Regions from separate parts of the Homo sapiens genome. Here regions 2 and 3 are each linked to region 1. Evidence: promoter capture Hi-C in human tissues and cell types (Jung and others, 2019). All regions are on one chromosome and are shown on one strand. Each heading gives the region's core, a stretch centred on a gene start or on the middle of the fragment in contact. The rest is flanking DNA. Distances are from core to core; before and after follow the strand shown. Region 1 holds the start of CASP10 (caspase 10). Region 2 overlaps HYCC2 (hyccin PI4KA lipid kinase complex subunit 2). Region 3 overlaps HYCC2 (hyccin PI4KA lipid kinase complex subunit 2).

Region 1 (3,088 bases), core at 392-2,891:
TATTCTCTATACTAAATTTCATCATAATCAGAGGAGCAATGCAGTGATAAAATTTTCATTGTAATACTATTTATTCTATAAGCACTTGAGGTATGTAGTCAATATGCAGAACTTGGCTATTTTTAGAAACAAGAAAATACTTTATAAAGGAAGGAACAGGTGGGGTGTCATGGCTTACGCCTATAATCCCAGCACTTTGGGAGGCCAAGGCGGGTGGATCACTTGAGGCCAGGAGTTCAAGACCAGACTGGGCAACGTGGTAAAACCCCATCTCTACAAAAAATACAAAAATTAGCCAGGCATGGTGGTGCACGCCTGTGGTCCCAACTACTCAGAGGGCTGAAGCAGAAGGATCATTTGAGCCCCGGGGATGGAGGTTCCAGTGAGCCATGATTGTGCCACTGCACTCCACCCTGGGTGACAGAGCAAGACCCTGCCTCAAAAACAAAACAAAACAACAACAAAAAAACCTCCTAGACCTCAGAAGGAAAGGGTGATTTTAGACAAGAGTTGCTCAAATCAGCGAAGGAAGATAAAAATTACATGAGTCAATGTTTCCATCTGACTAGTCTATAAACTATGGTATTCTACATACTAAATTTCATTATAATCAGAGAAGCACTTCAGGAGACTGAGGCAGGTGGATCACTGTGAGGCCAGGAATTCGGGACAAGCCTGGGCAACACGGTGAAACCCCGTCTCTACAAAAAATACAAAAATTAGCTGGGCTTGGTGGTGTATGCCTGTGGTCCCAGCTTCATAGGAAGCTGAGATGGGAGGATTGCTTGAACCTGGGAGGCGGAAGTTGCAGTAAGCCAAGATTGTGCCACTGCACTCCAGCTTGAGTGCTGGAGGGTGAAAGAGGGAGACTCCGTCTCAAATAAATAAATAGATAAATAAATAAATAAATAAATAAATAAATAAAGGAAGGAAGACACAGCAAAAATCAAAACCTCCATAACAAACAGTGGTTATATCGAGGTGACATAACTATAGATAATACAAATTTCCTTCTGGGCTTCCAATTGAATTTCTCAAATTTTATGCATATGTGAGCATACACATTACTTTTGGTGTTAAAAGAAACAAAAAAATGTCATTTTTAATGTGATAATCCAGGGGATCTTCCCTGCTACTAGCCCTGAGGTCAAATGAGTGGTTTATTGGAGACACCTTTCTATTCTACCGCATCTAGCATTTGCCTTGTGGTTTCTTGACAATTCTGATCTCTAGTTTTAGTGAGTCTACCAAACTTTGTCTCTGTGAGCTAACATATTTCTGCCCCGGTAAAAGGCTATGTTGGAGGCTTCCGGATTTTTTAACTTTTGTTTTCCCAGGCATGACAAAGAAATCTAAGAAAAAATAGTGCCATTGCTGACAAGTTTTTGCAAGTTTCTACAACACGAAGCCATGAAGCAAAGGAAAAGATTCAAGCATGAGACTCTGGAGTAAGAAGGGTTGTTAATTACATACCTTCAGATCAAGCTCCACCAATCTTCTGGAAGTAAACGGTTCTCAGGGAAATTGCCTGAAAACAAAGTTTTAAAGAAAGTAGAATCCTCTGTGTGCTCCAAGGTCCAAAGAAGCTCCCATTTGCTTGGGAAGAGACTTCAAGACTTGCTGGTTGTTTAAGTGAAAACTGAATCTTCAGGACTGGGTAGCCTGATACTAGTTTCCTGCTGATGTCATCACTGCTTATCTGCCTTTTTCCCTCCCCTTTTCCAGGGTTAAGATAACTTTGACAAACAGCGTCTCCTAAAGGCTAATTTACAACTTTCTCACTGTAGAGCTTGGGGTTTCCCCAGGTAAAGCAAAAGCTTCCTAGAAACGAACCCGTGGAAGCCACAAAGTGCTTCAGGCTTTCCTTTGGATCTCCATTTCCTTGGTAAGTCAAAAAGGGAAGCATCTGTTTTCCTAACCAACTCCTTCCCCAAACACACTTCACTTTTCAAATAAAGCCAAAAAGCTCATGAAATAGTTGTCGGCCATGTTAACCCTTTCTTATGTCCACATGCAAATAAACAATGGAGCGATCTCCACTTACCGCAACCTCTGCCTCCTGTGTTCAAGTGATTCTCCTGCCTCAACCTCCCGAGTAGCTGGGATTACAAGCATGCGCCACCACGCCCGGCTAATTTTTTGTATTTTTAGTAGAGACGAGGTTTCACCATGTTGGCCAGGCTGGTCTCGAACTCCTGAGCTTGTGATCCACCCTCCTTGGCCTCCCAAAGTGCTGGGATTACAGGCATGGAGCCACCGTGCCCGGCCCACAAATAAAATTTTTAAAAGATAAAAGAAAAGTGGGGATTCACTTTCAGTCTTTGTGGGAGAAATTAAGAAATAAAAAGAAAAAGAAAGGAAAAAAAAAAGAAAAGTGGGGATGGTGAATTACAAGCCCATTTGGAGGTACCTGCAAGAGACTCAACAAATTTGTGGTAGGCAAAACTGACAGTATGTGTTCTCACAGCACATTCAAACCAGCAGGAAAGTGAGACTTTGAAGACATTATTTCTAATCATAAAAACAATACTGCACACTAATATTGCAACTACCATGTGCCAGGGCATTTACAAATATTTACTCATTTCACCATCCCAACAACACTGTAAGATAAATACTATTACTATGACTGCTGCTTTAACATGTGAAAACTAAGGCACAGAAAGGTTAATTAATTTGCCCAAGGTCACACAGTGAGCGGCTGGAAGAGCCAAGATTTAAACCAGCAAGTTTGGATCAAAGTCACTACACTATAATTAAGCTAACTCAAATGTGCAGCACTCTGGAAAGAGGTACAGAGTCTTAGAAAGATGTTTTATCTATGGGGAAAAAAAGCAAGATTTATGATGCTTTGATTAGCAAATGTATTAAAATGTCCTTTCCATGTCCTAGGCATCATTCAGAGAACTTCTGTGCTTAAGAAAGACAAGTCCTGGGGCCAGGTGCAGTGGCTCCCGCCTGTAATCCCAGCACTTTGGGAGGCTGAGGCAGGCGGATCACGAGACCAGCTTGGCCAAGATGGTGAAACGCTGTCTCTACTACAAATACAAAAAATTAGCTGGGCGTGGTGGCACACACCTGTAATCCT
Region 2 (3,499 bases), core at 131-2,630, 160 kb after region 1:
GCTCAAGTGATTCTCCTACCTCGGCTTCCCAAAGTGTTGAGATTCAGGTGTGAGCCACCACGCCCAGCCAGAACTTACTTCTGAAAAATTTTCTTTTAATTGTGCTCCAAACTAAGACAAGTCACCTTATCTAAAATGTATAGTAGATTAATTTTCCTTGGTGAAAGGCACATATCATTTATTTCTAGTTGTTCCTATAAGTACTACTGTCCTCAGCTTCAATACTTTTTTCTTTTAGAGATAAAAGAGGAGTAGAAGGTAAAAGAAAATGCTGGGAACTGACCGTTGTGTTGTGGAAGAATGGTTATCAGAATTCAAGGTAAATTGGATTGGAGATCAGAATGTATTATATTTTTCTATACATCAGTAATTCAAACTGAATATGTGCTCTATGGAGAAACATTATGTGCTCTATGGAGAAACATAAAAATATGGTAGGAAGTGGAAATGGCAAAATACAAAATAACGTGTTTCTGTAATTGCAGTTCTTAAAAATGGTACTAATATGAATAATGGCTAGAAGGTGATACATAAAGATGAAAATAGTTGTTAGGATTGATGAGACGATATTTTAAAATATATTCAGTAAAAGAGAAGATCCATCAAGCTTTAATAAGGCACAAAAATAGGATTTATGCCTACGTTTTTCTGTCCTATAATTAAAAATCAAATAGTTTTTATGGAAAACTATGTAATTTATGAATACTATGGAATTGTAAATGTTTTGGCAAAACATAAATGCAAGAATTGAAACATCCTACATTTTTTTAAAGATTAGATTAATTTAAGATGGCCCATTTCAGGAAATGTTGGTATAATGTGTGATTTCTAATCAGTATTTATGGTTGAGTAGTTAGAAGAATTGTGTACTATAACATCCTAACTTAATTTGTTTGAACTCTGATGCTTCTTTCTTTCTTTTTTTTTTTGAGATGGAGTCTCGCTCTGTCACCCAGGCTGGAGTGCAGTGGCACGATCTCGGCTCACTGCAACCTCCACCTCCCAGGTTCAAGCAATTCTTCTGCCTCAGCCTCCTGAGTAGCTGGGATTACAGGCACCCGCCACCACGCCTGGCTAATTTTTGGTATTTTTAGTAGAGACAGGTTTCACCATGTTGGCCAGGCTGGTCTTGAACTCCTGACCACAAGTGATACGCTTGCCTTGACCTCCCAAACTGCTGGGATTCCAGACGTGAGCCACTGTGCCCAGCCTATTTCTTTATATTAATTATTTTTACTTTTCTCACTTGAGTTTGTTATAAATCTGTTCAAGAACTATTTGTGTAAAATAAAGTTCCTTGCTTCTCAAATGTTCACTTTTGTTTTCCTTTGGTGGTTTCTTTTAGGCATTACCTGACACTCAGATCACCAGTTATGCAGCAACTTTACACCGGAAAAAAACACTTGTACCAGCCCTCTATAAAGTTATTCAAGATTCAAATAATGAGGTAGGAGACCTCAAGAAAAATAATTTCTACATAGTGAAATGAAATATGTATACCAAAACACATAAATTTAAGTTTTATAATTTTCTTTCCTTGTGGATCTGGAAAATTTTCTTTCTGCTGTTTTTCATTCTGATAGTTGCTTTGGCTTTCCCTATTCCCTGCCTTTCCATATTTTGAAATGTTTTGGTCAAATTTTTTCCTGTTGAGTGTGCAGTATGTTTTGATTGTTAATTTTATTGACCATCATCTCAGTGGATTATTTATTTGAAACTTTTCTGTTTCCTGTTCTGGAATGTTTCCTGCTCTGGAAGCCATATTTTAACTGTATACTGATCCAGCTTTATTTATCTTAAGTATTTTTACAATTATTTTACTGATAATATATAACTAGGTATAATCACTCTAGTCAGTGAAATCAAACTGATAACACAAAATGATGCTGCTAGTAAATTTAGCCTGAAAAGGATCAGAGGAAGCACTTTTTAGTCTAAGTAGTCAAGATCAATAAACTTAGAATGAGAGTTTTGTATTATTTAGCCTTGTGATAGAAGGAAAAAGTACAGTTATTGAATCTGTATATTAATTTATGCAAAATACACACATTATCTTTCCATTAACACAGTAGTATGACATACAGTTTTATCACCACTGGATTCATGTATGCTTAAAATGAAAATGAAAGGAACACACAGGAAAGTAGCTTCTTATCTTCCCAGATACAGCCTCCAAGAGTGCCTCTGCTGTGTACTGGAGTGAGTTTGAAGAAGTTCAGGTAATCCTCTCCTAACCAGCAGCTTAACTTAAAGTGCATCTTCATTTTTGTCCTACCACTAAAAGCTTGCTTATTGACCTCCTTCTTTCCTGTCTCCTAAATTGTGACTGGCTCTCAGTTAGACTTGCATCTGTTGCTATTTGTAGCAGCAATTGCAGGATTCATTTGCTTTTTCTCTTGCAGTGTATTTCTGAATGTTTTATAACTCTGGGTATGCATAATGTACGTATATGCATATCCATATGGTCAAGAGTTTTCAGAATTCTTTGTTTGAATAATGAATGTGTGTATTCCCTACCCCTTGTTTTGCTCTGTCTTAACATTTAAGCTTTGCTTATTAAAATGTATTTGTTTTAATGCTTTCTCTTTAGATTGTAAGCTCTTCATGGGCAGTGGTCAGATATTCTGTATTTGTAACTTCCCGAGAATCTAGTATTTTATCATGTACATAATGAACATAGAATAGTATTGATTGGAAGGACAGTGAAGTACAAAATGAGATTCTAAAATGACATTTTCATTAGGGCTCACAAGTGTATAAGAAGTATCCCTTTCCTATTTTTTTGTTTAATACTTTAGAAGCTATTACATTAAAAAAGCTATTCTCATTACTTTCTGTTGTCATATTTCGTAATATTAATGTGTGGGACTTTGGGGGTTTCATGGCTAGAAATGGAAAAATTACAGCTTGAGGGATGCGAGCTCAAGGTCCAGCATTCATTATAATCAATCAGTTGCTAGAGGAGGTCTGAATTTCTCTCCTGTCTCCTGTCAGGTTAGAAGGCTCTAACCATGTGTTCAGACTTCAGAAAAATAGAATGATAAATTCTATAGAATTTCAAAACAATTCTGGACTTTAGTCATAGAAGGAGGTCCCTTTTAATCCTGATTTTGTTATATTCTGAAAGAAACAAACATACTATTTAGGTTACAAGAAATTATTTTAGAAAATTGTCATGTGCCATATTTAGTATGAATTAAACTTAAAATAGTTGCCGGCGCAGTGTCTCACGCCTGTAATCTCAGCACTTTGGGAGGCGGAGCGGAGTGGATCATGAGGTCAAGAGATTGAGACCATCCTGGCCAACATGATGAAACCCCGTCTCTACTAAAAATACCAAAAATTAGCTGGGTGTGGTGGTGCACGCCTGTAGTCCCAGTTACTCAGGAGGCTAAGGCAGGAGAATCGCTTGAACTTGGGAGGCGGAGGTTGCAGTGAGCCGAGATTGCATCACTGCACTCCAGCCTGGCAACAAAGCCAAGACTCCATCTCAGAGAAA
Region 3 (3,490 bases), core at 667-3,166, 180 kb after region 1:
GCCTCCTGGGTTCACACCATTCTCCTGCCTCAGGCTCCCAAGTAGCTGGGACTACAGGCGCCCGCCACCATGCCTGGCTAATTTTTTGTACTTTTAGTAGAGACGGGGTTTCACTGTGTTAGCCAGGATGGTCTCGATCTCCTGACCTCGTGATCCACCTGCCTCGGCCTCCCAAAGTGCCGAGGGATTACAGGCGTGAGCCACTGCACCCGGCCATTGGACTTTTGGTCTTTAAAGTGTGTTTCTTGCTCCAAAAATGTAGCTAAGCAGTCCATATGGGTACAATATCTTCTGGTCCTTTTACAGTACTCTGAGCATTTGATCCACAATCTGATAAGCAAAACCTAATGCAGTGTCTGTTCCTGTCAGGACCCATTTGTGGCCTCCAGAGACTGCTGGCATCTGTTTGGCTTGCCAGCTATGTGCAGGACCTTCCCCCAGAGGAATCTGCCCCATAGCCATCTGCAGTCTTTGTCTGTTTTATTGGCATTTTATGCCTCAGAGGGTACAAAAAATATGTCTAAATTCAACCCATCTCTGCATTGCTGCAGTACCACCATGTCCACTCATTTCATGGACCCAAGTGATCACTCCAGGTGGCTACACAGGGATATTTGCCCATAGGTGCCAGTCACCTGATTCTAGAAGGGAGTTCTCCTGATGTGCATTGACATATCCTACTTATGCACGCTTCAAATTCCCATAGTGATTTCCATATGCCTGTTTTTTTCCATACAGGCACCCCTTTATTAGGCCAGTTTTATATTACCCTTCTGCCTGACCACATGGCCAGGCCACTGGCCACCACTCATAAGCTGATAAAAACCCAAACAGGCCAGGCATGGTGGCTCACGCCTGTAATCCCAGCACTTGGGGAGGCTGAGGCGGGTGGATCACCTGAGGTCAGGAGTTTGAGACCAGCCTGACCAAAACATGGTGAAACCCTGTCTCACTAAAAATACAAAAAATTAGTTGGGCGTGATGGTGGGCACCTGTAATCCTAGCTACTCGGGAGGCTGAGGCAGGAGAATCACTTGAACCCAGAAGGCAGAGGTTTTGCAGTGAGCCGAGATTGTGCCACTGTACTGCATCCTGGGCAACAAGGGTGAAATCCATCTCAAAAAAAAAAAAAAAAAAAAAAAAGCAACAACAACAACAAAAAACCCAAACATAGCGGCAAACTGCATGCAATTCAGCCAACCTGCTAAGCTGATATGTTTTCACTTTTTTTTTTTTTTTTAAGATGGAGTCTCGCTCTGTCGCCCAGGCTGGAGTGCAGTGGCGCGATCTCTGCTCACTGCAACCTCCGCCTCCCAGGTTCAAGCGATTCTCCTGTCTCAGCCTCCTGAGTAGCTGGGATTACAGGCGCACGCCACCATGCCTGGCTAATTTTTGTATTTTTAGTAGAGATGGGGTTTCACCATTTTGGTCGGGCTAGTCTTGAACCCCTGACCTTGTGATCCACCCACCTCAGCCTCCCAAAGTGCTGGGATTACAAGTGCAGTGGTGCGATCTCAGCTCACTGCAGCCTTCACCCCACTAGTTGAAGCTATTCTCCTGCCTCAGCTTCCCAGCCCAGCTTTTTAAAGAATAAGTCTTGGGCTGGACACATTGGTTCATGCCTATAATCCTAGTGCATGGATTGAGGTGGGAGGATCACTTGAGGCCAGGACTTCAAGAACAGCCTGGACAGTATAGCAAGACCCGATCTCTTAAAAAATAGCTGAGTGTGGTGATACATGCCTATGGTCCTAGGTACTCTGGAGGCCGAGGCTGGAGGACCAAGCCCAGGAGTTTGAGGCTGCAGTAAGCTATGATTGCACCACTGCACTCCAACCTGGGCAACAAAGCGAGACCCAATCTCTTAAAAAAATTTTGTATTTCTTTCTCTAGTGGCACATAGATATCTTATTCTTTTTAATGATGAGTTATTATTCCATTTTATGTATGTACCATCAATTTTTAGCCAGTCTCTTATTGAGTAAATTTAGATTGTTTTCAGTTTTTTGCTGCTATAAACAATATTACAGGGAACACATTTTTTGTACATACATTTGCGTGAGAGCACGAAAAGTATCTATAGGATAAATTCCTAGCAGTGAATTGTTACGCTAAATAATATCTGTGGCCGGGTGCAGTGGCTCACGCTTGTAATCCCAGCACTTTGGGAGGCCGAGGTGGGTGGATCACGAAGTTAGGAGTTCGAAACCAGCCTGGCCAACACAGTGAAACCCGTCTCTACTAAAAATACAAAAATTAGCTGGGCGTGGTGGCAGGTGCCTGTAATCCCAGCTACTCGGGAGGCTGAGGCAGGAGAATCGCTTGAACCCGGGAGGCGGAGGTTGCAGTGAGCCAAGATCGCGCCACTGCACTCCAGCCTGGGTGACAGAGGAAGACTCCATCTCAAAAAAAAAAAAAAGAATCTCTGCTTTTTTAGTTGGAGTAGATATTGTCAAATTAGCCTTGCCAAAGCAACTATACCAATTGAATGTCCTACTAGTAGTTTGAGAGTTTTTCCTCCTACTAACTCCCAATACTGATTATTTTCAAAGTTTTTAATCTTTACCAATCTGATAGTTAAAAACTGGTGTCACATTGTTATTCATTATTGTTTTTCTTTACCTATGAACTGCATATTCATGTCCTTTGTCCTTTTTTTTTTTTTTTGGCTGATTGGTGGGAGAGGTTTGTTTCACTGTATTGCCCAGGCTGGTCTCAAATTCCTGGGCTCAAGCAGTCCTCCCACCTCGACCTCCCAAAGTGCTGGGATTATAGATGTGAGCCACTGTGCCCAGCCCCATTTTTCTTATTGAGCTGTGTATTTTTTTTTTTTTCCTGGTGACTTGCAATAGTTCTTTGAATATTGAGGAATTGACACTGGTTTTTCATGTTGCACGTTTTCAGCTAATTATTGACTTTACATTTATTTTTTAAATTGAGATATAATTCACATACCATAAAATTTACCCCTTTAGGGAGCCAGGCACAGTGGCTCATGCCTATAATCCCAGCACTTTGGGAAGCTGAGGCAGGTGGATTACTGGAGGCCAGGAGTTTGAGGCCAGCTTAGCCAACATGGTGAGACCCTGTCTCTACTAAAAATACAAAAATTAGCCGGGTGTGGTGGCTCATGCCTGTAATCCCAGCTACTGGGTGGCTGAGGCAGGAGAATCACTTGAACCCAGGAGGCGGAGGTTGCAGTGAGCCGAGATTGTGCCACTGCACTCTAGCCTGGCGGCAGAGCAAGACTCTGTCTCAAAAAAAAAAATAAAAATAGAAATAAAATTTACCCCTTTAAAGCATACAATTGAGTAGTTTTTATTACTAGACATTTTACATGAATGGATCCATACAATATGTTGCCTTTTGTGTATGGCTTCTTTCACTTAGCATGTTTACAAGGTTTGTTTCTGTGGTAGAATGTATCAGTACTTTCTTTTTATAACTAAATAATATTTCATTGTGTGGATATACCACATTTTATTTATCC

The links. Contacts are between HindIII fragments. The study calls those that stand out against the background at their distance.
Region 2: a contact is called between a fragment that was not itself captured here and the fragment with the promoter of CASP10 in region 1, in 4 of the 25 tissues and cell types used here (IMR-90 fibroblasts, aorta, hippocampus and 1 more).
Region 3: a fragment that was not itself captured here is called in contact with the fragment with the promoter of CASP10 in region 1 in 1 of the 25 tissues and cell types used here (IMR-90 fibroblasts).

The regions. Positions count from the first base shown.
Region 1 is chr2:201,181,694-201,184,781 of GRCh38, reverse strand. It overlaps CASP10 (caspase 10), which reads right to left and starts at 1,641. Exons shown (of 10, transcript NM_032977.4): 1 at 1,474-1,641. The HindIII fragment of the contact is 16,206 bases long and covers 377-3,088 here.
Region 2 is chr2:201,020,779-201,024,277 of GRCh38, reverse strand. It overlaps HYCC2 (hyccin PI4KA lipid kinase complex subunit 2), which reads left to right. Exons shown (of 13, transcript NM_001321623.1): 3 at 239-319; 4 at 1,346-1,447. The coding sequence starts at 269. Among named protein-coding and RNA genes, the nearest start is that of HYCC2, 49 kb to the left of the region's middle. RefSeq lists an enhancer at 2,051-2,220. The HindIII fragment of the contact is 5,479 bases long and covers 1-3,499 here.
Region 3 is chr2:201,001,459-201,004,948 of GRCh38, reverse strand. The region is part of intron 7 of HYCC2 (hyccin PI4KA lipid kinase complex subunit 2); the gene reads left to right. All of the region lies in intron 1 of LOC105373835 (a long non-coding RNA gene), which reads right to left. Among named protein-coding and RNA genes, the nearest start is that of ORC2, 40 kb to the right of the region's middle. The HindIII fragment of the contact is 5,990 bases long and covers 1-3,490 here.